Linked DNA regions of Homo sapiens: all the other regions are linked to region 2. The links are contacts of gene promoters, found by promoter capture Hi-C in human tissues and cell types (Jung and others, 2019). All regions are on one chromosome and are shown on one strand. Each heading gives the region's core, a stretch centred on a gene start or on the middle of the fragment in contact. The rest is flanking DNA. Distances are from core to core; before and after follow the strand shown. Region 1 holds the start of CNIH2 (cornichon family AMPA receptor auxiliary protein 2). Region 2 holds the start of AP5B1 (adaptor related protein complex 5 subunit beta 1). Region 3 holds the start of DPF2 (double PHD fingers 2). Region 4 overlaps PACS1 (phosphofurin acidic cluster sorting protein 1). Region 5 overlaps POLA2 (DNA polymerase alpha 2, accessory subunit). Region 6 overlaps PACS1 (phosphofurin acidic cluster sorting protein 1). Region 7 holds the start of PACS1 (phosphofurin acidic cluster sorting protein 1).

Region 1 (3,208 bases), core at 709-3,208, 500 kb before region 2:
ATAAACTGCTGAGGATCCCCTGAGGACAGGGACCCCACAGGGGCTGTGGGAAGGCCCTGGGTGGGGAAGGCCCCAAAAAGAGGCTTCTTGAATTCCAGGAGCCCTTCTCCCAGGAGCTGGTCAGCTCTGCATTCCCTAGCCTGTGGCCCCCAGCTCCCTCCAGTCCTTAGAACCCTAGCCCTCCTGCCCCTACCCCACAGAAAGAAAAATAGAGTAACTCGGGGTGCGGGGGAGAGGGGGAAAGACAAAGCAACCAAGACCCAGAGAGAGAGCAGAGCCAGGCCAAGGAGTGACAGGGCTGGAGCTGGGGTGTGTGCTGAGGTGCCTTTGGGGGCTCACTCTTCACACAGTAGGGGTTCAGTCTATGGATTCCCGATGTCAAAGAGCAAGGTGGCAGGGGATGGCAAAGGGAGCGCAGGGGGAACCATGGAGCAGGCGGCAGGTCCCAGGAAGAGAAAGGAGAGAGGAAGTGGAGAGCCCGGGAAAGAAGCAGGTGAGGCACCGGGAGGAAGGAGGGAAGGGCTATGGGAAATGGGATTGAGGGAGGGATAAGAGGACCCCTGAAAGGGAATGACAATCAGGGAGGTGTGCGCGGGAGGTGTGAGCAGAGGATGCTGAGCTGAGCCAGCCAGGGCCGAGCTGGGCAGGCTGTTACAGAAACAGGCACGGGGTTTGGGTGGGGGTGGGGACGGAGGGCAGTAAAGTGGGGCCAGGGGCCCCCAACAACCAGCTGGAGGCTGATTGATAGTTCTGTAGTGAGGGGACGGGAGCCAGGCAGAGGAGGCCCTGGAGGAGAGGAGCGGGAGGGGAGGAGGAGGGAGCCTGGGGGAAGCGATGGGTCGGATGCAGGATGAGGAATGGACATTTTGAAGAACCAGGTGTGAGGCTAGGCCAGGGCGAGGGACAGACCAAGGGGTATGTGAGAGACAAAGGGGAAGGGGGACAGGAAGAGGAGGGAAGCTGGAAAATGGAGAGGAAACCTGGGGGGCTGGGAAGCCCCCAACAGGAGGGGTAGGGAAACCCAAGGTGAGCCGGTGGTGGGGGCTAGGTCTCTGGGGGCTGATGAGAGCCAACTGCTGCTTGGTCAGGGAGGGGGCTGGGAAGGCAAAGGGTTAATGGACTCTGAGATCTGTGGGTCCTGTAAACAGATGCAGTTGCCATAGCAACCAGCTCCATCACTCTGGCTGGAAAAACCCACAAAGGCGGGGGGGGGGGGGCAGCAGACAGACAAACTGCCCGACGGACTAATGGAGGCGGCTGGATGGTGGTGGGGGGGGACATAGAAGATAAAGCAACAAAAATGCCAGAATTCCACCCCCCACCTCACGGGCTGCATGGGAGCAGAGGACGAGGGCAGAGGAGGGGGTCAGAGACCGACTGACATACACACAGACAGGCGGGGGCGGCGGAGGAAGGGGGGCCCCGGGAAGAAAGCCGACCACGGGGGGTGTTAATGGGGGCGAAGCCGACAAGCCGACGGCTGGGGGATAGCAAGTTTCCCCTGGGCTCTGAGACCACCCGCCCTGGGTCCCTCCAGCTCCGCGTGGCCCCTGCCCCCCACCCCGCCCCCAGCCCCAGCCCCAGCCCGGCCTTACGTGCCAGATGACAAAGAAGATGAGGGAGGCGCACAGCACCAGGGTGAGCATGTAGCAGAACGCGGCGAAGGTGAACGCCATGGCCCCCGCGCCGGGCGGCGGCCCGGGGGGCGCCAGCGCGGGGCCCGGGCGCAAGGGGACGCCCCCCGGCCCGCGCTTAGGGCCGGCCGGGCATGGCCCGTGGGGCTCGGGGGACGTGGGTGATGCGGCCGGGACCGGGACCGCGGGGCCGTGGGGGGCGCGGGGCGCGGGCCGGTGGGCTCGGGGGGCGCGTCCGCTGCCGGCTGCCCGGGCCCCGATCGCTCATCCTGCGATCCCTCGCCCGCGGCTCCCTCGCTCTCCAGCCCGCGAAGCCGGCGGGGCGGAGCCGGGGGCGGGGCCGCCGCGCGAGCGGCCTCGGGCGGGGCTGGGTCTCCGCGGGCCCCTCGTCTGCCCGCCCGGCTCGGGCGCCACCCCCAGCCCCGACAAGCCCGCGGCCGTTCACCCTCCGGACAGCGTAGACGCGGCCGCCCCCGGCACCCCGCACCCCTCGGCACTCCAGCCACCGGCACAGCCGCACTCGGCCCCCTCGGGCGGGCGCTCAGGGCAAAGGCTGAAGTGCGAGGCACTTGTCACTGTCGGAGACGGCAGAAGCACCTGGCTGGGACACACAATGACGCCAGGACAGGGGCTGAATGGGAGCAGTGGGGTTTTGGGGGGCGCTGAAGGAGGTTGGGCCAGGTGCAGTGGGGGCCCTCTCAGCGGCTGCGCGACCCCACACCTCTGCCGTGTGCCCCGCGGGAGTTGGCGGCGGCACGCCAGGTATGAGCTGATGGCCGCCTGCCTCTTTCCCTGACAGAACGGTGCTGGGCCCTTGGGGACAGACCACAGAAGCACAAGCAGCTTTCCTGGCCTCAGGAAACGGGGTCAAGGGCTTTTGCCAGCAGCCTTAGGACACAGAAACCAAGCCAGGACCCCCGTGCACCCCACCAAGCCCAGGGTTCCAGTTCCATCCCCCCACCCCAAGGCTGGGCTTAGACCACAGACCACACTTGGCCACCACAACTTCCTTGCAAAAACCCTCAGCTCACCCGAGGGCCAATGGAAATTTATTAATTTTTTTTGTCCTTTTCCATCTTTCCCCAAGTGGCTTTTCCTTGCAAAATGCCTGACATGACACCAGAGGGGAACCTGGGAGCGGGGGGCACCCCAAGGGGGCAGCCCAGGGACTTAAATACAAGCTGGAGGGCAGGGCACAGGTGGGACAGGCAAGAGACAGCACGAGGGACATGGCTTCTCAGGGAGACCAAAGACTTGCTTTCTTGCAGGAAGCAGCTGTGCCAGAGGGCAGGGGACTAGGATCCTGGGTGCAGAGTGGGTGAGCAGAGAGGCCCCCAATCCTGGATGGAACCCACATTCCCCAGAGAAGTAGCGGCAGGGGATGAGGGCCTTCCCTGGTGGGCTCCAGAGACGGAGTGGGGAGTGAGCCAGATGTGCTACCTTGGGGAAAGGGAGGAGGTGCTAGCAGAGTGAGGGTTAAGGCTGGTGCCCAGCCTCTGGCACGGTGGGCCTTCCGCCTCCGCCTGACATGGGGACAAAGGGGCACGGTGGGCAGGCAGCGCATGGGTCTGTCT
Region 2 (3,015 bases), core at 74-2,573:
TCACCCCACAGCCTCTTGGGTGGGAGTTATCACTCCCATTTTATAGATGGGGAAACTGAGGCACCTAGAGGGAAGTAGTTTGGGGCTGCTGCCTGTGAGTCAACTGTGGAGCCAGGGCCTAGAGGAGCCGGGACCGGGCCTTCTGGCTGGACCTGTCCCTCCGAGTGGGTCTCTATCTCTCCATCCCCAAGGGCACCCAGACAGCCTCCTTTTTGGCACTCTCCACCCCTCAACTCTCCACCACCTCCCATCTGGAGCAGGATGGGGTAGGGAGAGGCCAGCTGGCACTGGCTTGCATGGGGGCTCAGGCCTGTTTCATCTTCAAAGCGGCTAATTGGAGCCAGAGGGGTGGTGAGGTTTGGGCGCCGGCGGTTCTGTGCCCTGGAAACCGGTGGTCTGTGGGGCACCTGCAACCTGGGCCTCTGGCCTGGGAGAGACCGCCGCCCAGACCCCCGAATGCCCCCAAACAGCCAGAATCCAGCCCACTGAAGTCTGGAGTGCTGGGTTCCGGCCCGGCTTGGCCCCAGATCTCGGTTGGCAAGGCCGCCCTCCTCCTGGGCCTGTTTTCCCCATCGCTAGGCATGCCTCGAGCCCCGTGACCGGCCAGGCCCTGACAGCCCGCACTTCCCGAGTATGGATCCCGTTGTTTTCGACTTAGGGCCCTGCCCCGCCCTCGCCGTCACGACCCCTGCGGGCCGCCAGCGCGGCCTCGGGCAAACAAAGGTCAGAAGCTCCTGGCTGGCCGCAACCGCGGCGCCGGCTCCTCGCCCCCAAGCCGAGCGGGCTGGGGGCCCGGGCAGGCGTCAGGGAAGCGAAGCCAAGCCCTGCGGCGCCCGCCGGACCGGTTCAGCTGGGGCGCTTTTCCTGCGGGCGCCCTGCGACCGCACCTTGGTCACCCCCAGGGGCCACTCCGGGAGCCCCAGGACCCGCACCCACGCCCCCCGGGGCCGCGCGTCTGGCGCAGGGTGCGGTGTGCCCGGGCGCCGGCGGGGGGCGCGCTGGCTGCCGCCCTGCGCGGCTTGGCGGGCGCTGGTGGGACCGGGCCGCTGTCCGCCGAGGGCCGCGGGATCGCAGCCCTGCGCCGCGGTACCCGGCATCTGGGGCCCAGGCCCACCCCGCTCCGCCACCCCTACCCACTCCCCTCCGCCTTTCCTGCCCCGGCCTGCGGCGGTTTCGGGGAAGGGGGCCTGCGCGGCGGGACAGTTAGTCAGCCCCCGCGAAACCTGCGAGTCGACACCTGCGGGAGGCGGTGGCCCCGTTACGCCCCGCCCCTCCCCGCCCGGACTCGGCCGCCCCCGCGCCGCGCCCCGCCCCGCGCCGCCAGCCCGGAAGGAGCCGGCCGGCCTGAGTGCCCGCGGCGGCTGAGTCAGGCGGCGAGCGCGGCCCGTTACCGCCGGCGCCGGGGGCCGGGGTGGCGCTGTGGTTTCGGTGCGGGCCGCGGGCGGGAGGGAGGCGGCCTAACGAGCTCTCGGCACGCACCCTCCCCCGCCCTGCTCCTGTCCTGTCCCGCGAGGGCCCCGGCGCCCAGCTCTGGCGTCGGCCCCGAGAGCCCTGGTCTCACCGTGGGAGCCGGGCGCGGGTCCCGCCGGCATCTGCGCGGCGTCTGGGGGTGACCGCAGCCCCTCGGGGTCGGCAGCGGGCCCCGCGCTCCCGGTGGCTGCGGCCTGAGGGTCCCTCTTCCCTGCGCAGGGGCCCGCGCGCCTCACCATGGGGCCCCTGAGCCGGGACGCCTGGGCCCAGCGCTTGGGGGCCTTCCGGGCCAGCCCGTCTGCCTTCATGGCAGGTCCCGAGGGGGAGGATTTGGGTCGCGACCTGCTGAGCGACCTGAGAAGTGAGAAGCTGAGCGAACAGACCAAGGTAGGCCCCCACGCGTCCCCTGCGCCGTTCCGCAGGGTCACCCCAGCCCGCCGCGTCATGAACCTCATCTTCGTGATTCCCTCCTAATCCCCCATCCAGGTTTCCCTGCTGGCCCTGAGCATGGAGTACCCTGCGCAGCTGTGGCCCGACGCCTCTGCGGCCGAAGTGGCCGCCACCTCCCTGTTGGACACCTTGGTCCTCCTACCCCCGCGGCCCTCAGCTCTCCGTCGGCCACTGCTGCTGGCGGCCACCACTGCCCTGGCGGCGGGCGGCGCGCTGGGCCCCACCTCGGGCGCCTCCTGCCGGCTCCTGCCCCTACTGCTCGGCCTGGCCGCGGGTAGCGATCTGGGGCGAGGCTTTGTCCCCGCCTCGGAACAGCGCCCCTTGCAGGCCACGGCCTGCGAGTGCCTGCGAGAGCTAGAGAGCTGCAAGCCCGGGCTGCTGGGGGGCTCCCTGGGGTTGCTGCGGGGCCTGCTGGGGCAGGAAGGCCCTGTCCAGCCACTCAGCCTGTTGCTGGCCCTCGCTTTGCGCAACACCTTGGTGCTCCAGTCCCGGGTTGGGGCTGGCCTGGGGGGACTGCTCACGGATAAGGTCTCCCCAACTGGGGGTGGTCCCTGGGATTGGACACTAGTGGAGGAGGGCGATGGACGCCTTCAGCCCCAGGCACCCAGCTGGCCGGCAGCTGAGGAGGGAGAGGGGGAGCGTAGCCTTACAGCACGAGAGCACAGCCCTGAGGAGGCGCGGGAGCTGCGGGCTGCGGTGATCCAGCTTCTGGACACCTCCTATCTGCTCACTCCTGTGGCCCAGGCCCAGCTCCTGTGGCTGCTGGGCTGGGCCCTGCGGGGTCTGCAGGGACAGCCACCGGCACTCTTCAAGCCGCAGCTGGTACGGCTGCTAGGCACAGCACAGCTGACACTGTTGCACGCCATGCTTGCGCTCAAGGCGGCCTTTGGTGAGGCCTTGTTCACAGCCCAGGATGAAGCGTTGCTGCTCCGCCGGCTCACCTTGGCTGCCCAGCACCCTGCTCTGCCTCCGCCCACCCATCTCTTTTACCTTCACTGCGTCCTGAGCTTCCCTGAGAACTGGCCGCTGGGCCCTGAAGGTGAGGAGGCTGCCCCACTGCTGCTAGGGCCCCAGCTATGCCGTGGTCTCCTGCCC
Region 3 (3,253 bases), core at 371-2,870, 450 kb after region 2:
GGCAACCCTATTTCTCTGAGGAAAATCTTCCAACACGAAGAACCTCACTACGTTTAACTCCCAAAACCTAGGCAAGTCTGATACTCCCCCAGTACAATGAGAATCTTCCTTTTTATTTTTGGAGAAACCTGTGTAAAACATCCCCTTACAATGGGATGAGGGAAGTCAACAAAGACGCAGGGAAACAAAGAAAGAACATCTGAGTCAGGAAGGATAACTGGATAAATGGTAGATCAACAGTGTCATTTCTAAATTGAGAAAAATGTCAGCCTGAAGAAAGAGCTGGGGAAACTGGAGTGGGCAGATCAGAGAGAAAGACAATAGCGTTGGGAGGAGGGGTGGCTGAAAGAGACAGCAGGATAGAGCAGAAAGCAACTTAAAAAAAAAAAAAACAAACCACAAGAGGAGGAAAGGCACTTAGCTTAATGGAAGTGGGAAAGCATTCTCAAAGAAAAGGCTTCAGGCAGGAGGGAGAAGCAACTTACTCTTTAAAAAGGCTCTTAGGAAGAGTGGGGCTCAGGCCACGACAAAGACAGATGAGAAGCTGTGAGTCCCTTAGAAGAGTTACCGAACCTTTACCTCGTCATCCAGTCAAAATGCAAAAACCCTGACTGGACAGCTAGACACCACTCAATTTTCCCACCCTTGCACCAAGCCCAACATACCCATTAAAAGAAGCTCTATTCGCCCACCATGCATTAACCCAATCTAAAACTCATTCTGATTCTTCTGTAGGAATAAATCAAGTCCCAAAGCATCTTTAACTCACAGGAAGCAGTTCATAGGCCAGCGTCCATGGCCCCAACAGCTATTAACTTTAACTTTGCTTGAAATCTGACCAGCACAATGGTATCGTATAATAGGAAGAATGCCCACCTAGATGCCCCTTTAGGCTAAGCTGTCCTGAACGGCTTCGGTCCAGTTGCAGGTTTTTGATGGCTGCTACTGGACGGGGCCAAGGCCCACTCCCCTGAAGTTCCTTCCCTTCTGGATCCGCTCCTCGATAAATTCTTCCCAAGAATATTTGTAGTCTTAGGTACCTGCCACCCAAGATCCTCCCAAACATCACGGGGCTGCCTGGAACTGAAACAGCCAGCCCCGCAGTGCACTCCGCAGGGGCCGCCGAGCCTGTTGCTGCAGCGAACGGGACGGGACGGGGCGGGGTGGGCGGCGGGCCAGCCGTAGGGCCGCCCGGGCCTCGGCCCCGCTCCTCCGGACTGAGGCGTCTCGGGAGAGGACCGGGACGGTGAGTCTCGCGTGCAGGCAGGGCGCCATGCTCTGGAAACCGTCAGCCCCGAGGAACGCTGAGGCCACACAGCCCCGCAGGGATGCCGCCCGTCGGGGCTCCAGTGTGCCCCCACCAGGGCCTCCACAAGTTTCCAAAGAAGCGCAACGTCTTCTCCGGAGTCTCCTGTTGCCCTCCCCACCAGGAGTCGCAACATGGCTTTCCCGGGGATGTCCCTCTCTCCGCCTAGTCCCTTCCCCCACCGCCCCCTACTCCCAGGCCCTTTACAAAACCTGCCGCCCTAGGAGAGAAAGAAACGACCACTCACAGCTTCACTACATTCTCCACCACAGCCGCCATCTTCCCTGTTCCTCTGCCTCGGGCCGAGAAGCCCCACAGTCCGCAGCGCGCAGGCGCCGGGACCGCACCGGGGTACCAGGTTCCTTGCCCTCTGCGCAGGCGCCGTCCGGGCGCGCGCACTAGAGCGAGCACTGAAGAAAGAGCTTTACGCCTGTTCGCGGGGGCCGGGTAGGAAATGCGTGGACCCCACGGGAGCCCGACGCGCAGGCGCAACCGGAGATTGGCATGCATCCCGGAGCTCCGGTTCGAGGCTTGCCTCTAATATTTAGAGGAGCAGGAGCCGGGGCCGGGCGCGGTGGCTCACGCCTGTAATCCCAGCACTTTGGGAGGCCGAGGCGGGCGGATCACGAGGTCAGGACATGGAGACCATCCTGGCTAACACGGTGAAACCCCGTCTCTACTAAAAATACAAAAAATTAGCCGGGTGTGGTGGCGAGCGCCTGTAGTCCCAGCTACTCGGGAGGCTGAGGCAGGAGAATGGCGTGAACCCGGGAGGCGGAGTTTGCAGTGAGCCGAGATCGCGCCACTGCACTCCAGCCTGGGCGACAGAGCGAGACTCCTTCTCAATAAATAAATAAATAAATAAAGGAAAAAAAGAAAAAGAAAAAAGATTAGCTGGGCATGGTGGTGCATGCCTGTAATCCCAGCTACTAGGGAGGCTGAGGTGGGAGGATCACTTGAGCCCAGGAGTTTGAGGCTCCAGTGAGCCACTGGAGCCACATCACTGCACTCCAGCCTGGGCAACAGAGCGAGGCTCCATCTCAAGAAAAAAAAAAAAAAAAAGGAAAAAAAATATATATACATATATATATACACATATATATATACACATATATACATATATATATATACACATATATATACATATGTATATATATACATATGTATATATATATATATATATATAAATATAATCACTAAAGCTGAAAATACACATACCCTATGACCCAGCAAAGTCCACTCCTGGATATACACACAAGAAAGCTGTACAAGAAGCTGAGTGCAATGCCTCATGCCTGTAATCCCAGCTACTTGAGAGGGTGAGGTGGGAGAATCACTTGAGCCCAGGGGTTCAAGACCAGCCTGGGCAACATAGCAAGATCCTGTCTCTTAAAAAAAAAAAACAAAAAAAAACAGGCCAGGAGCATTGGTTCACGCTTGTAATACCAGCACTTTGGGAGGCCACGGTGGGCGGATCACGAGGTCAGGAGATCGAGACCGTCCTGGCTAACATGGTGAAACCCCATCTCTACTAAAAATACAAAAACAAAATTAGCCGGGCATGGTGGCGGACGCCTGTAATCCCAGCTACTGGAGAGGCTGAGGTGGGAGAATGGCGTGAACCTGGGAGGCGGAGTTTGCAGTGAGCCAAGATCGCGCCACTGCACTCCAGCCTGGGTGACAGAGCGAGACTCCGTCTCAAAAAAAAAAAAATAAAGCTGTACAAGAATGTTCGTAACAACATTATTTGTTTATATTTATTTATTTATTTATTTTGAGACGGAGTTTTGCTCTTGTCGCTCCTTAACAAATTCTTCCTTCCAGCCCAGGCTAGAGTGCAGTGGCACTATCTCAGCTCACTGCAACCTCCACCTCCTGGGTTCAAGTGATTCTCCTGCCTCAGCTTTCCGAGTAGCTGGGATTACAGGTGCCCCCAGCTAATTTTTG
Region 4 (3,205 bases), core at 72-2,571, 410 kb before region 2:
AAGAGGAGACCAAGGGAGGAGAATCACACAGTTCCTCTTCTACTTTCCACCTGATCACACCTGACAGATGTACAGATGTAAATCTTTAGCAAGAGGAGATAATCCACACAAACAAAACATACATCATTTGGCAGGAAATAGTTAAATGGTCACAAATTCTATTTCAGCTGCATTTTGCTCCAAATATGCAGAAAATCTTCAGTGCCACAAATCAAGAAATTCCCCGCAACTCAAAAGTGACAGGATTGTCCCTCACTGTGGAGTCTCAGTAACTCTGCTCTGACTTTACCTTGGCCTTACCACAGCAGGGCCACCCTGGACTTCCAGCAGGAGTGGGAGGGAGACTCTGGAAGCTGCCTTTCTATGGCTGCCTGGGTGGTCAAAGTCTTTACACATTCTTCTCCTGGGAGAGGTTCTGGGGAACGGTACACATGAGGGATGTTGCTTACCAGAGTCATGACAAGTCCAGAGAATCCGGCTGGATTTCATACCTCTTTTTTCCTCCGTGCTGAGGCCCTCTAGGCCCTGCTCAGGCCCCTGTCTTGCATCTCCACAGCCCTCCCTCAGCTCCAGCCACACTAACTTTCCTTTGGCTCCGTGGCAGTGCCACCCTCTCTCGCCTCAGGGCCTTTGGAGGCTGCTGTTCCTTCTGTTGGCACCACCCTGCCACCTAACGCCTCCTCAGCCTTGGGTTATGCATTTTTGCCAGGAGAACTTCCCCCGATGCCTTGCAAAGTCTGTGATGTGTCCCCAGCACAATTCCTATCATGCCACTGGAGTGTAACTTCCGGCGGGCAGGCAGCAGGCTTGCCTCTCCACCGCTCTCTCCCCAACATCTGCCCAAATGCTGGGCACAGTATATAGTTGCTCAGCAAATATTTGTTACATTAAGTTTCCTAAAATGGCTTCTAGCTAAAATCAGATTAACAAGAGTATGTGAAGAAATTAATATAATTCATGTTTTGTTTTTTTTTTAAAGGAGGACAAATCCAGGTCAACAGAACTAAATTCTGGTTTTGAATTAACCTCACTCAAGAACTTTCTTTCTTTTTTTTTTGAGACAGAGTCTCACTCTGTCTCCCAGGCTGGAGTGCAGTGGCATGATTTTGGCTCACTGCAGCCTCCACCTCCCGTGTTCCAGCAATTCTGCTGCCTCAGCCTCCTGGGTAGCTGGGATTACAGGCACCCACTATCATGTCTGGCTAATTTTTGTATTTTTAGTAGAGACCGGTTTCACCATGTTGGCCAGGCTGGTCTCGAACTCCTGACCTCAGGTGATCCGCCTGCCTCGGCCTGGCAAAGTGCTAGGATTACAGGCGTGAGCCACCACGCCCAGTCACCCAAGTACTTTCAAAGATCTGCTGACTAACACAAAGAAAAACAAATAAATCTCTTTCTTTGCTTTAAGCTAGAATCAAAATCAAATAAAATGTATGAAAGCTTATCAGGTCTCTTCATCTATATCATTTTACCTAGACCTCAAAAACAGGACTGTGTGGATGTGTGTTGGGGGGCTCACTGTTCTACGCATGCAACAGAAAAACATTTCAAGTGGAGTAGTGACCTGCCCAAATTCACTTACAGCCAGTAAATGACAGAGCTGGATTCTAACTAATCTCTTTGTGGTGGACCAAATACCCAGCCCCCACCACCCAGATGTCATCTCCTAATCCCCAAAACCTGTGAATATGGTACCTTGGCAAAGTCCCATGGCAAAAGGGACTGTGCAGATGTGATTAAGTTAAGGCTCCTGAGATGGGGAGATTATCCTGGATTATCTGGGTGGACCCAATATGATCACAAGAGCCTTTAAAAGAGGGGGCCAGGGAGGAAAGAGTCAAAGGAGGAAGCAGGGACTGGAGATATGGCTGATGGCCTTGAAGATGGAGGGAGGGGGTCAGGAGCCAAGGAATATGCAGCCTCAAGAAGCAGGAAAAGGCAAGAAAACAGTCCTTCCTTGCAGCCTCCAGAAGGAGCACCACCCTGTCCACACCTTCCGTGCTGCCCAGTGAAACCTATTTTGGACTTCTGACCTGCAGAAATGCAAGATAATAAACGTGTGTTGTGTGAAGTCACGAAGTTTGTGGCCACTCGTCACAGCAGCAGTAGGAAGTGAACCACCCCTCATCCCAGGGCCTGGCCCTTCCCCATCACGTCACCGCCTCCTCAGCCTGTGACCTGGGTGCCCTCAACTCTGATGTCCTAAAACACTCTCCTGACATCTGTTGCTCTGGAGCCATCTGGGTTCATGCTGTTTCCTCCAAAATCCCCCCTTCAATGACTGCCCACAGTACCGCCTGTTTCTCCCTTCCCTTCAGAGCAGAGATGTGCTGTCCCACAGGGAACTCTGGTTCTACTGATATCAAAGGGATTATTACAGTTCACAAATGGCTATTCAGAAATGTAGTTAACTCCTGCAGTCCCAGCTACTCAGGAGGCTGAGGTGGGAGGACTGCTTGAGCCCAGTAGTTCGAGGCCAGCCTGGGCAACATAGAAAGATCCCATTCTCTTAAAAATAAAAAGAAATGTGGGAGGCTGAGGCAGGAGAATCGCTTGAACCCGGGAGGTGGAGGCTGCAGTGAGCCAAGATTGCGCCATTGCACTCCAGCCTGGGTGACAGAGGGAGACTCCATCTCAAAAAACAAACAAACAAACAAACAAAAACAAATGTAGTTAACTACGTACATTGTTTAACTGAATTTTGTGCCTTCATCAAGGCAAAAAATGATGGCTCAAAATGAAATGGGACATGACTGGGATGAGCCAATGGAAAAGACTGAATATGCCCAACGTTCGTCCTCATCTGAGGCTTGCCAAAATCAAATAAAATAGAAACAAATCTCTGAAATTCAAATGTTTTATTTGAGAAGAAAAAAACTGCTGCAATTGGGAGCATACCTGTAGATCAGGTAGTCTTCAGTATGTCCAAAGAACAAAGAGAAGCTTAGATGTTTTATAAAAAAGAGAAATGTTACTATTGCTCTTTGAGAAAGTTCATCGGCACAAGAAAGGTTTTGGGAAACTGGCAATCTCTGATAGGTGAGTGAGAGTGGTGGGCAAAGCTAGTCTTAGAGCTGCAGCACGTCGTCACAGTAGACATCAGATAAAACAGGTTTCAGGTTATAGCAGGCAGTTTCAGCAGCCAGGTTTGCAGAGAATTCCATTTCTGGAGCAATGCCTTGAGTGCCTTTCCCCTAGTTTCTCG
Region 5 (3,263 bases), core at 1-2,500, 500 kb after region 2:
CGCATCTGCCCATGCTGCATGTAAATAAATTCTTTTTGAAATCGTACATCTTTTCCTTTCCAAGGCAACCTTCAAAAATACCTGTTAAACATTAGTCTTTAAACAACATGCTTCATGTAGGCAGAACTCAGGCGACAGCACGACCAACGCTCACTGGGCTCAGACCAGGGGTCTTGTGACAAAAAACCTACGAACTCATGATGGTGGCGCCCTCACTGCTTGGTCACATTGCTCTTCAGCAGCTTCTGCAGCTTTCTTGGGCTTGGGAAACTGCACTCCTGGACTCATGTCTACCATCCTCATTGTTGGCAAAACAATATTTGAACCGAAACTCACCTGCATCCTCTTCAGTGGGCTGATAAAATGGAAGTGGCACACCCTAAAAACAGGGGAAAAGCTCAAGTAAGGTCTTGCGCCAGGCATCACCTTGGTAAGGAAAGGGGAGGGCACCAGGTTGGGGGTGGTGCAGGTGTGTGATGGGAGGACAGTGGGGAGGAGCGAGAGGGCAGGGGAAGGATGTGCCTCTGTCTTGCTCCCTGGATCTGATGGGACCTGCCATTTTTCTATACTGCTCAGAGGGCAAAGAAACCCAGGTAATGGGAGGTCACTACTCAATTGTCATAAAATACCCAGCAACAAGTGGGAGCAAAACAGGTGCCTAAAGTATCAGTGTACTTCTAGGCAAGGATGGGAGAGAATGGTTTCTTGCTACTTTTCCTGGCATTCTACGAAAATCTCTGGAGGATTGTTGCCTAGAGCAGGGATAGGTAACCTTTCGGCCTCTGGGCCAAATTTGGCTGCAGCCCACTATTTAAATAAAGTTTTATGGGAACACAGCCACAGTCATCTGTTTAAGAGTCCTCTATGGCTGCTTTTGTAGACAAAGGCAGAATTGAGTCATTGTGACAGAGACCATATAGCTACAAAGTCTAAAAGAGTTACTGTCTGGCCCTTTATAGAAAGGGTTTGCTGACCCCTGGCCTAGGGGTGGGTTCCCACTTACAGATGGAGAACTGACTAACAAATAAATGGGCTCCTAAAAAGGACCAGTTTCTAGAACAGACAGCTTCCAGACATACTTTGTCTGAAGCAAACCAAGAGGCAAGTGGGGGTACTGCTGTGTACCTCGTAGAGTTTGGTGGCAACAAGTTTCCTACCAGTGGTGTTGATTCCTTCCATAATTACAACCTGAAAGACAAAAACAAACAGGATTGCTAAGCAGTGGAGATCAATGAGGTCTGGAATACATTATTTTGAGGCAGTTAAAAGCATTGTCCAACTACTCTCATTCTGTAATCATAAACTTAGGGCATTTTTGTAGAAAACGAATTAAGGGCGTTGCATTAGTAATAATAATTATGCTCTATATAAGTGATCTAATTTTCACAACAATCCTATGAGGTAAGAATTATTATTTCCATTTTGTGAGTGAAGAAACTGTAGTTTAGATGGTTAAGTACCTTGTGCACAGTCATGCACCTCATGGAGCGGGGAGTTGGGATTTGAGGCTGCGCAGTCAGGTCCCAGAGCCTGGGTCAGAGCATGGGGGAAACAGGAATCCCAACAGTGGTGTCTGCTCTGGGGCATGTGCTCCAGCTGCACCCCATGGCAGCAGAGACAGGAACTGAGGAGCAGCTGCGCATGGCACAGCACCTACACTACAGGGGTAAAGAGTGCGCCTGCATTCTGGTGGAACTCCTCCAATCTCACCTGTCCAGGAAACAGAGAATATTCCTTAAGCTCAGATAAATCCACTGGAATTTGAGCACCCGAGGAATGTTCCCGGTCTCCCTCGAGAATCACTGACTTGTTGTTCAGCTTCCCGTTGCTATCACAGCCAATCTGGCCCAGCAGAGTGACAGGCTCCTACCAAAGGAAGGTCACAGCATAAGAATGACAGTCTTTGGAGCAGGAGCTCAAAATCTGAAGTCGATAGGGTGAATAGCAAAACAAACTGCAAACAACAAATACATTTCTTGGCAGGGCATTGCTTTGACCCTGAGGTGACTACCGCGTCATCACTGACTCTCAGGATGGAAGAACTCTGAAAGGGCATCTTGTCCACCCATCCACCCAGCACTTGAGCCTTCCTAGGAGGCTGCCTAAGTGTGAGCATCTCTAGTGTAGGGGAACTTGCCCCTGGATGCCTACCCCACCCTGTCCTCACCACCCCAGGGCAGCCCACTGCATCTTTGGGCAGCTATAACTACTTAATAATAGCTAACATTTCTTGAGCTTACTAAATACCATGCACTGTTCTAAAATGTATTCTTAGGCATTTTATATGTATTAACTCATTTAATCCTTGCAACAACCATCGGGTGGATATTACTGTATCCATTTTACAGATGAGGAAAACAAGCAACAGAAAGGTTAGATAATTTAGTCAAGGTCAAACTGTGGGTGAAGCTTGGGTTTGAAACCAGAAATTTGGCTCTAGAGCCATATCCTTAGCCACATACCATACAACCTCTTAACAGGAAGTTCTTTATTAATTGAGCTAAAATCTCTGTCTCCATGGCTTCCTCTGTTCTGTTCCCACTCTTGGGAGAAAACAGAGGAAGTCTCATCTTTCCCAGTGATTGTGCCTCCCTGCCTTCCCTCAATTACTTCCTTCCAAGTCCTCTAACACTTCCTTCTATGACACAGTTCTGCATCACTTCCCCAACTGATCATTCTTTGAATGTAAACATTGACAAAGGTACTTTAAAGAAACTTCTAGAATATATTTCCCCTTAGATTAGAAAACATTCTAGAGAGAAAGCACTGGTATATATGCCAGATTAAACTATGATATAAAGATACTATTGGCAGCAGTTTGTCTATAACAAGAGACCAAACCAGGGGAGAGACTGTGAGTCATTGTCCAGAGAACAAGATTCTGAAAACCCCACCGTCGCTGCTGTCCTTTTATCTCGATACGTGAATGCTTCTATTTGTGGGAAATCCCCGGGGAGCTACCTGACTCACCACCAAGGGAAACAAGGCCTTGAGTCTCTGCTTATGTGCAAGACTCTAATCCAAGTGGGAAGAAAATCACTCTCTGGCCACAAAACCAGACAGCACTTACAAATCTTTCTTCAGAAGGGCCCATTTTCCCAAATTCAACCAAGACAGATGTTCAAACTAGAACACAGACAAGAAGTGAAAAAGGAAGCAAGAAGGATGCCTCTTGGTCATCGATTTAAAAACGTAATATTAATTAGTGAGAACTATTAGAACAACTCTTACCTGTGCTGGGGCTAGCAAAGGAGTGAAAGCTT
Region 6 (3,045 bases), core at 257-2,756, 340 kb before region 2:
TAACCTCTGCTCCCTGGACTCAAGCAATTCTCCTGCCTCAGCCTCCCGAGTAGCTGGGATTACAGGCATGCGCCGCCATGCATGACTAATTTTTGTATTTTTAGTAGAGACGAGGTTTCACCATGTTGGCCAGGCTGGTCTTGAACTCCCGACCTCAAGTAATCTGCCTGCCTCGGCCTCCCAAAGTGCTGGGATTACAGGCATGAGCCACCATGCCCGGCCTGCCCAGATATTTTAAACAGGACTGATTTTCTTCAATTACTTGAATACCTGAATTATCCCAGTTTTCTATTTTATTTTATCTACACAGGCATAGTTAGACACTGGTTAGAGTAAGACTAGAGGCAAAAGACACCCCTGGTTACTCTACTTGAATCTGTGAGTAATGTGTATTTTCATACACTTTGAATTATTTAACATGACTTAGCTCTCTGACCCTGGAAAATCACTCTGAATCCAGAACATCTTCAAAATAGAGGATGGAATAAAATTGCTTCTAAGATCCTTTTGACTTACTTGGTTTATATCTTCTTTACTATGGGATCAAATCCCATTAAACAGCAAGTCAGTGGCTCAAAATATTTCAAATACTAGAACTTCATTGTAGCAAATGATGCTAAAAGTAGAAATTTAATTGCAATAAGATTTGGTCTACGCATTAATTGATGTGGTACTTTAATTTTTTATTTCCGTAGGTTTTTGAGATTTTGGTGCACCCAACACCCAAGCAGTATACACTGTACCCAATTTGCAGTATTTTATCCCTCACCTGCCTCCTGCCCTTTCACCCGAGTCCCCAAAGTCCATTGTATCATTCTTATGCCTCTGCATCCTCATAGCTTAGCCCCTAGATGCTGTATTTTTAAAAAGAATTTATTGTTCACCAATGTTCATAGCAGCATTATTCACAATGGACAAAAGGTGGAAGCCACCCAAATGTTCATCAATAAAGAGACAGACATGGAAAGAAACAGTTCCTCCTCCTCAATGGGATGTTCTGGTGTCTCCCTGTGGCACCTGGAACTGCGACAGGCCACCTGAGACCATGGGGAGCCAGCGGGCAAGCCTGTACTGAGGATGACAAAGCAGGAGGGCAAAATGAACTTGGCTCCTTGATGCCTTTGCCAGGCTGCTCAGTTAACCAGCACTGGACTCACCCTTGCCCCAGACTTTTGTTTTCTGAAATGATAAACATCTGTGTGTTTAAGTCATTGAGCTGGCTTTTCTGTTTCTTGAAGGTGAAAGCATTCTAACTGATGACACACACTGACCTAAGATGTCTGACACACCATGAGACTTATGCAGTAATGAAAGGCAGAGTTTGATCTCCATAATTAACAAACTCACTGAAAGGCAAAATACACCGTTCTTGTCATTAAAATGCAAGAAAGGCTTCAGAGCAGGTAAAGAACAAGGTTAAAGTGCAGTAAGCAGATCCATACATTTAGCCATTCAATACATAAACGTGGACCCAGAAGTTATCCTGAATGAACCAATTATGCCCCACTTCAGAAATATTAGAAGATGATGACTTAAAATACTGTCTTTATGATCACAACAACCCTAACTATATAACTCTAGGTTATATTATTCCCATTTTATAGATGAAGACACTGAAGCAGAGAAGAAGCTGAGTAACTTGCCCAAAGCCATTATGTCCACAGTTTTCTCTGCCTGGAACTCTTCCTTCTCTTCACTTAGCTAATTCCCACACATCCTTCAGGTTTCAACTTAAGCAATCACTCCTTAGGAAAAAGGCTTCTTTTATGTGTTCAGACAAGGTCCAGAGCTCCTATTATGCTCCACTGCACTCCTGTTCTATGGCAGCATTTTGCACACTTGAGATTAAATATTTGTCTTCCCACTAGAATGCCCATGGCCTGAAACAGTTCCGTCTTTTTTACAACTAGACGGTATTGCCAAAGCTGCGCAGAATGCCTGCCCTTGACAGTCTCACAGTCTGATAGCGAGACAGCAAGTAAACAGTTCCTTGGAGATATTGTGGCTTTAGTTCCAGACCACTGCAATAACGCAAGTGACATGAAATTATTTATTTCCCGGTGCATATAAAAGTTATGTTTACACTATACAGTAGTCTATCAACTGTGCAATAGCATTGTCTTAAAAAAAAAAAAAGTATATACTTTAATTTAAAAATGGGCTGGGTGCGGTGGCTCACGCCTGTAATCCCAGCACTTTGGGAGGCTGAGGTGGGTGGATCACGAGGTCAGGAGATCGAGATCATCCTGGCTAACACGGTGAAACCCCACCTCTACTAAAAACAACAAAAATTAGCCGGGCGCGGTGGCAGGTGCCTATAGTCCCAGCTACTTGGGAGGCTGAGGCAGGAGAATGGCATGAACCCGGTAGGTGGAGCTTGCAGTGAGCCGAGATCACGCCACAGCACTCTAGCCTGGGCGACAGAGCGAAACTCTGTCCCAAAAAAATAAATAAATAAATAAAATAAAAAAATAAAAATGGCTTATTGAGCCAGGCGTGGTGGCTCACGCCTATAATCCCAGCATTTTGGGAGGCCGAGGCAGGTGGATCACCTTAGGTCAGGAGTTCAAGACTAGCCTGGCCAACATGGCAAAACCCTGTCTCTACTAAAAATACAAAAATTAGCTGGACATGGTGGCACGTGCCTATAATCCTAGCTACTTGGGAGGCTGAGACAGGAGAATTGCTTGAACCCAGAAGGCGGAGGTTGCAGTGAGCCAAGACCATGCTACTGCACTCTAGCCCGGGCAACCAAGCAAGACTCCGTCTCATTAAAAAAAAAAAAAAAAAGCTAACAATTTTCTGAGCCCTCTGCAAGTTGCAATCTTTCTCCTGGTGGAGGGTCTTGCCTCAATGTTGATGGCTGCTGACTGATCAGGATGGTGACTGCTAAAGGTTGGGGTATCTGTGACAATTTCTTAAAATAAGACAATGAAGTTTGTCACACTGACTCTTCCTTTCATTAAAGATTTCTCTAAAGTATGCAATACATTTGATAGCATGCTACCCACAGCAGAATTTCTCGCAAAATTGGATTCAGTTCTC
Region 7 (3,166 bases), core at 279-2,778, 290 kb before region 2:
ATCCGTCTGCCTAACCAACAGTGAGGAGACAGCCCAAGACTTCAAGGCAACAGAATCAACTCAGCTACAAGGTGACAAAAAAGAACACCTCCAGGCACTTCTCTGGGCTTTCTGGGTGAAACCAGCTCCACACACCGTCTTATTCAAGTGGCAAACTGTAAGACACAGCACCCTGTCCCCAGAGTTGGAGACAGACTGCCTTGCCAATACAAAAACAGAAAATATTCCCAAACTCAGGCCTATTTTGCCAATGGAAGGAAAGTCCCCAGATGGTTCCAACAGACAGAGAGCAATGGATTGAATTTAGGAACAAGGCAGTAATTTCATACAGCCCTGCAGAGCTGGGAGATTCTGGGACCAGTTTTAGTGGGGGAGGGGAGGTAAAAATACACTTGAGGACACATTAAATAGGGCCCCAAAACTAAGAGCCTAGCGCTTGGGACAGAACGTGTGTAATATGAAGTTCAAATGAACATGTGTGCCGAAGGCTAATGAGAAGCCCCTAGGGTGATTATATGAGCTTTACCTGCAAGAGGTGACAATCGAGTTTGGCACATGCTGAGTCTATTGGGAAATAATAATATCAAGAGATCTATACCACATCCATGTATGTACAGCTCCCGGCGCCGGCGAGGCAGGAGAGTGACTTACTCAGGGAAACTGACTGCCAGGAAGGCCGGATTCGGTCAGCCCAATCGGAGAAAGCCCGGGGCCGAGGCCAGAAGGTCCCTCGGGGAGGACAGAAGGGTGGTCCCGGCCCCAGGCAGAAGGTGGGGCTGCCAGGAGAGGGCGGGTCCCCGTGGCAGGAGTCCCGGGAGGCCTGGCTGGAGCCAGGCCGGGCCGCGGGACAGTCGGGGAGATGGAGGGCGGGGACCCCATGGGCGCTGGGGCGGGGAGGGCTGGGCCCCGGCGGCCACCCCGCTCCCCCGGCGCCCCGCCGCACCCTCCCGCGCTCACCTAGGCACGCAGCTGGACGAGCTCCGGTCCACCTCCCAGGTGGCGTACAGGTTCATCTGCACCGGGGCGGGGGTGCGGCCTGGCCCCGGGCCACCGGGAGGCGCGGAGCCCGAGGCCACCGCCACGGCCATGGAGGTGGAGGTAGACGAGGACGAGGAGGAGGCAGCCGCCGCCGAGGTGGACGAGGACGACGAGGTGGCCTGGGCCAGCTTGGGGGGCGTCGGCTGCTGCGGCGGCTGCTGCTGCTGCTGCTGCGGCGGCGGCTGCTGAGGGGACTGGGCGACCCCGGATCCCCGCTGGCCGCTGCCGCCCCCGGCGCCTCCGGGACCACCGCCCGCCCCTCCGCGTTCCGCCATGGCCCGGCTAGGCGGGGGTTACGGAGGCCGAGGCGACGCCGATCTGGCTCCCAGGCTTCCCCCGCGGCGGCGGCGGCGGGGGCGCGGCAGCCTCCTCAGCCCGCCTGCCCGAGCGCGAGCAGCCAGCGAGCTGCACGCACGCGCGGGGCCTCTGGGCGCGCGGGCCTCGCGCTCGACCGCCGCTGCCTGTTGCGGCTCGCGAGGCCGACACGGGTGGGCGTGTCCGGGAGGGGGCGGGGAGCCCGGCCCGCGCGGCCCCACCCAGCGCGGAGGGGCCGGGCCGGGCGCGCTCGCGCCCTGCGTGCAGCCACGCGCGCCCCTCGCTCCCGCGGAGTAGAAGGGGTGGTCTGTGGCCAGCGCGCGCCCACGGGTCCTGCCCTCAAATCCGCTGCCAGTCTGCCCCCGCTCCTCCCCTCCCCGCCCACGGCCGGCCGCGGCCCCGCCAGCGGAAACCCGGCTTTTCCGGGATTCGGTCCCTGCAGGGAGGGGGCCGCCGCGGGAGCGCGCCTCGGCCCCTCGGGTCTTCGGAGCCAATGCGGAACCCGCCCCCAGCGGTGGGGGTCTGCCCGGGGAAGCCGGCTCTCCGCCTGCCGACCTAGCCCTGCCCTGCGGCCCCGGCAAACAGAGAGGTCGGCGGAGACCCGGGGCCCGCTGCCACCGCGGGTGCCTGTGATCCGGGAAGTTCCCGCCCCGAGGGCAAGCGGGGGCTCAGGGACCTGGAGTCCAGAAGGTTCTTCGCATAAGTGAATTCTCAAGCTACCCCGGGGCCCATCTGGAGCCAACCTTCCTCTTCTTTCCCTACCCCCCAAATGCCTCTTTAGAGTGCCAGTGCTTTGTTGCTTACCAAATTTCTAAAATTCCATTCCTCCTAAGGCCTAGCTCAGCTGCCACGTCCTATCTGGATCATGCCCCCCACAACCCCGAGACCATCTTGAACCCTCCGGCAAGTGAGCGCCTCCACTGGTGCACTTAAACACCAACAGTAGTACAACAGCAGCGCATGACTACCCTCCCCACAGGCTGGCAAATGCCCATGGGAGCCAGTGATCCAGCCTGCTCTAGTCTGTCAGAAAGGCTGCTCAGGACCAGATTACAACCTGGAGAAAGTAAGTCCCCCCATCCCACATACAAATCCCAAACCCCAGCGACTAGTGTTGCTTGAACCCAAGGGTTCATATGGACTCAAGACAATTTAGCTTTTGAGCTATGTTGTCGCACAGGTAAGGACTTGAACTTCTGGTCACAAGGTCAGTTGGGAAGGCCTGCCCTGGCCTACTTCCCAAGCCCACTGTTACTTCCTCTGCCGCGCTAGGGCGCTAATCTGGCTATTTTTACTCCCCAAGGACAAAGTAGTAAGGTCAAACCAGACCTAGAGGTACTTCCCCCAAGCCTTCCTACAAAGCAGGGCAGTGGTGAAACACAGATTTCAGCCTGGGGTTGGCGTCACCACCAGTCAAATGCGCCGTCTAATCCCAGTTTATGTTCGTGGTTACTGGGGCAGCCCAGTGATTGTAGAAAGAGACTATTTTAGTCCTTTTGCAAGAAGGGGCTAAAAGGAGATGAGGGAGGCTCAGGAGTGTTAAATATTCATCTCTTTCCTTGGGAAACAGCTTTATTTACAAAACAGGTCTAAAATAAGAACATGAAATGACAAGTCCTTGGGAACTGCGGGAGAGGTGGTTCTTGTGTGAAGCCCAGGCATCCAGACGTAGGGCCAAAAAAAGGGCTAGTGTGAGGGGACCTAAAACTTGAACTCCTTATATTTCTTGCTGCCCCCACGGCTGTCCTGGGGCTGAGCTTTCCGTTTTTTTTGCTGTATAGGGAGAAAGAGACACAGGTTAAGACAGGTTGAA

The links. The method cuts DNA at HindIII sites, captures the fragments that hold promoters and counts their contacts. A contact is called where the count stands out against the background at its distance.
Region 1: a contact is called between the fragment with the promoter of CNIH2 here and the fragment with the promoter of AP5B1 in region 2, in 1 of the 25 tissues and cell types used here (lymphoblastoid cells).
Region 3: a contact is called between the fragment with the promoter of DPF2 here and the fragment with the promoter of AP5B1 in region 2, in 1 of the 25 tissues and cell types used here (spleen).
Region 4: a fragment that was not itself captured here is called in contact with the fragment with the promoter of AP5B1 in region 2 in 2 of the 25 tissues and cell types used here (dorsolateral prefrontal cortex and lymphoblastoid cells).
Region 5: a fragment that was not itself captured here is called in contact with the fragment with the promoter of AP5B1 in region 2 in 2 of the 25 tissues and cell types used here (dorsolateral prefrontal cortex and spleen).
Region 6: a contact is called between a fragment that was not itself captured here and the fragment with the promoter of AP5B1 in region 2, in 1 of the 25 tissues and cell types used here (dorsolateral prefrontal cortex).
Region 7: a contact is called between the fragment with the promoter of PACS1 here and the fragment with the promoter of AP5B1 in region 2, in 2 of the 25 tissues and cell types used here (heart right ventricle and lymphoblastoid cells).

Annotation. Positions count from the first base shown.
Region 1 is chr11:66,276,925-66,280,132 of GRCh38, reverse strand. CNIH2 (cornichon family AMPA receptor auxiliary protein 2) reads right to left here and starts at 1,958. Exons shown (of 6, transcript NM_182553.3): 1 at 1,596-1,958. The coding sequence starts at 1,676. RAB1B (RAB1B, member RAS oncogene family) reads right to left here. Exons shown (of 6, transcript NM_030981.3): 6 at 2,641-3,208. It overlaps LOC107984340 (a long non-coding RNA gene), which reads left to right and starts at 1,608. Exons shown (of 2, transcript XR_001748274.1): 1 at 1,608-1,638. RefSeq lists a silencer at 1,853-2,182. The HindIII fragment of the contact is 9,186 bases long and covers 1-3,208 here.
Region 2 is chr11:65,779,284-65,782,298 of GRCh38, reverse strand. It overlaps AP5B1 (adaptor related protein complex 5 subunit beta 1), which reads left to right and starts at 1,323. Exons shown (of 2, transcript NM_138368.5): 1 at 1,323-1,857; 2 at 1,957-3,015. The coding sequence starts at 1,708. RefSeq lists enhancers at 1-609, 1,339-2,241 and silencers at 870-1,609, 1,650-1,829, 1,980-2,249. The HindIII fragment of the contact is 21,769 bases long and covers 1-3,015 here.
Region 3 is chr11:65,332,219-65,335,471 of GRCh38, reverse strand. It overlaps DPF2 (double PHD fingers 2), which reads right to left and starts at 1,620. Exons shown (of 11, transcript NM_006268.5): 1 at 1,554-1,620. The coding sequence starts at 1,585. RefSeq lists a silencer at 1,179-1,268 and an enhancer at 1,319-1,368. The HindIII fragment of the contact is 14,713 bases long and covers 1-3,253 here.
Region 4 is chr11:66,189,875-66,193,079 of GRCh38, reverse strand. The region is part of intron 1 of PACS1 (phosphofurin acidic cluster sorting protein 1); the gene reads right to left. LOC105369354 (a long non-coding RNA gene) reads right to left here. Exons shown (of 2, transcript XR_950219.2): 2 at 2,844-3,205. Among named protein-coding and RNA genes, the nearest start is that of KLC2, 66 kb to the left of the region's middle. The HindIII fragment of the contact is 5,080 bases long and covers 1-3,205 here.
Region 5 is chr11:65,279,595-65,282,857 of GRCh38, reverse strand. It overlaps POLA2 (DNA polymerase alpha 2, accessory subunit), which reads right to left. Exons shown (of 18, transcript NM_002689.4): 7 at 3,232-3,263; 8 at 1,711-1,866; 9 at 1,126-1,188; 10 at 337-379. Among named protein-coding and RNA genes, the nearest start is that of POLA2, 19 kb to the right of the region's middle. RefSeq lists an enhancer at 2,389-3,263. The HindIII fragment of the contact is 6,666 bases long and covers 1-3,263 here.
Region 6 is chr11:66,122,935-66,125,979 of GRCh38, reverse strand. The region is part of intron 1 of PACS1 (phosphofurin acidic cluster sorting protein 1); the gene reads right to left. Among named protein-coding and RNA genes, the nearest start is that of PACS1, 54 kb to the right of the region's middle. The HindIII fragment of the contact is 8,035 bases long and covers 1-3,045 here.
Region 7 is chr11:66,068,634-66,071,799 of GRCh38, reverse strand. It overlaps PACS1 (phosphofurin acidic cluster sorting protein 1), which reads right to left and starts at 1,528. Exons shown (of 24, transcript NM_018026.4): 1 at 958-1,528. The coding sequence starts at 1,313. It overlaps SF3B2 (splicing factor 3b subunit 2), which reads right to left. Exons shown (of 22, transcript NM_006842.3): 22 at 2,492-3,126. The coding sequence ends at 3,055. RefSeq lists silencers at 584-788, 849-998, 1,009-1,138, 1,289-1,338, 1,349-1,968. The HindIII fragment of the contact is 13,254 bases long and covers 1-3,166 here.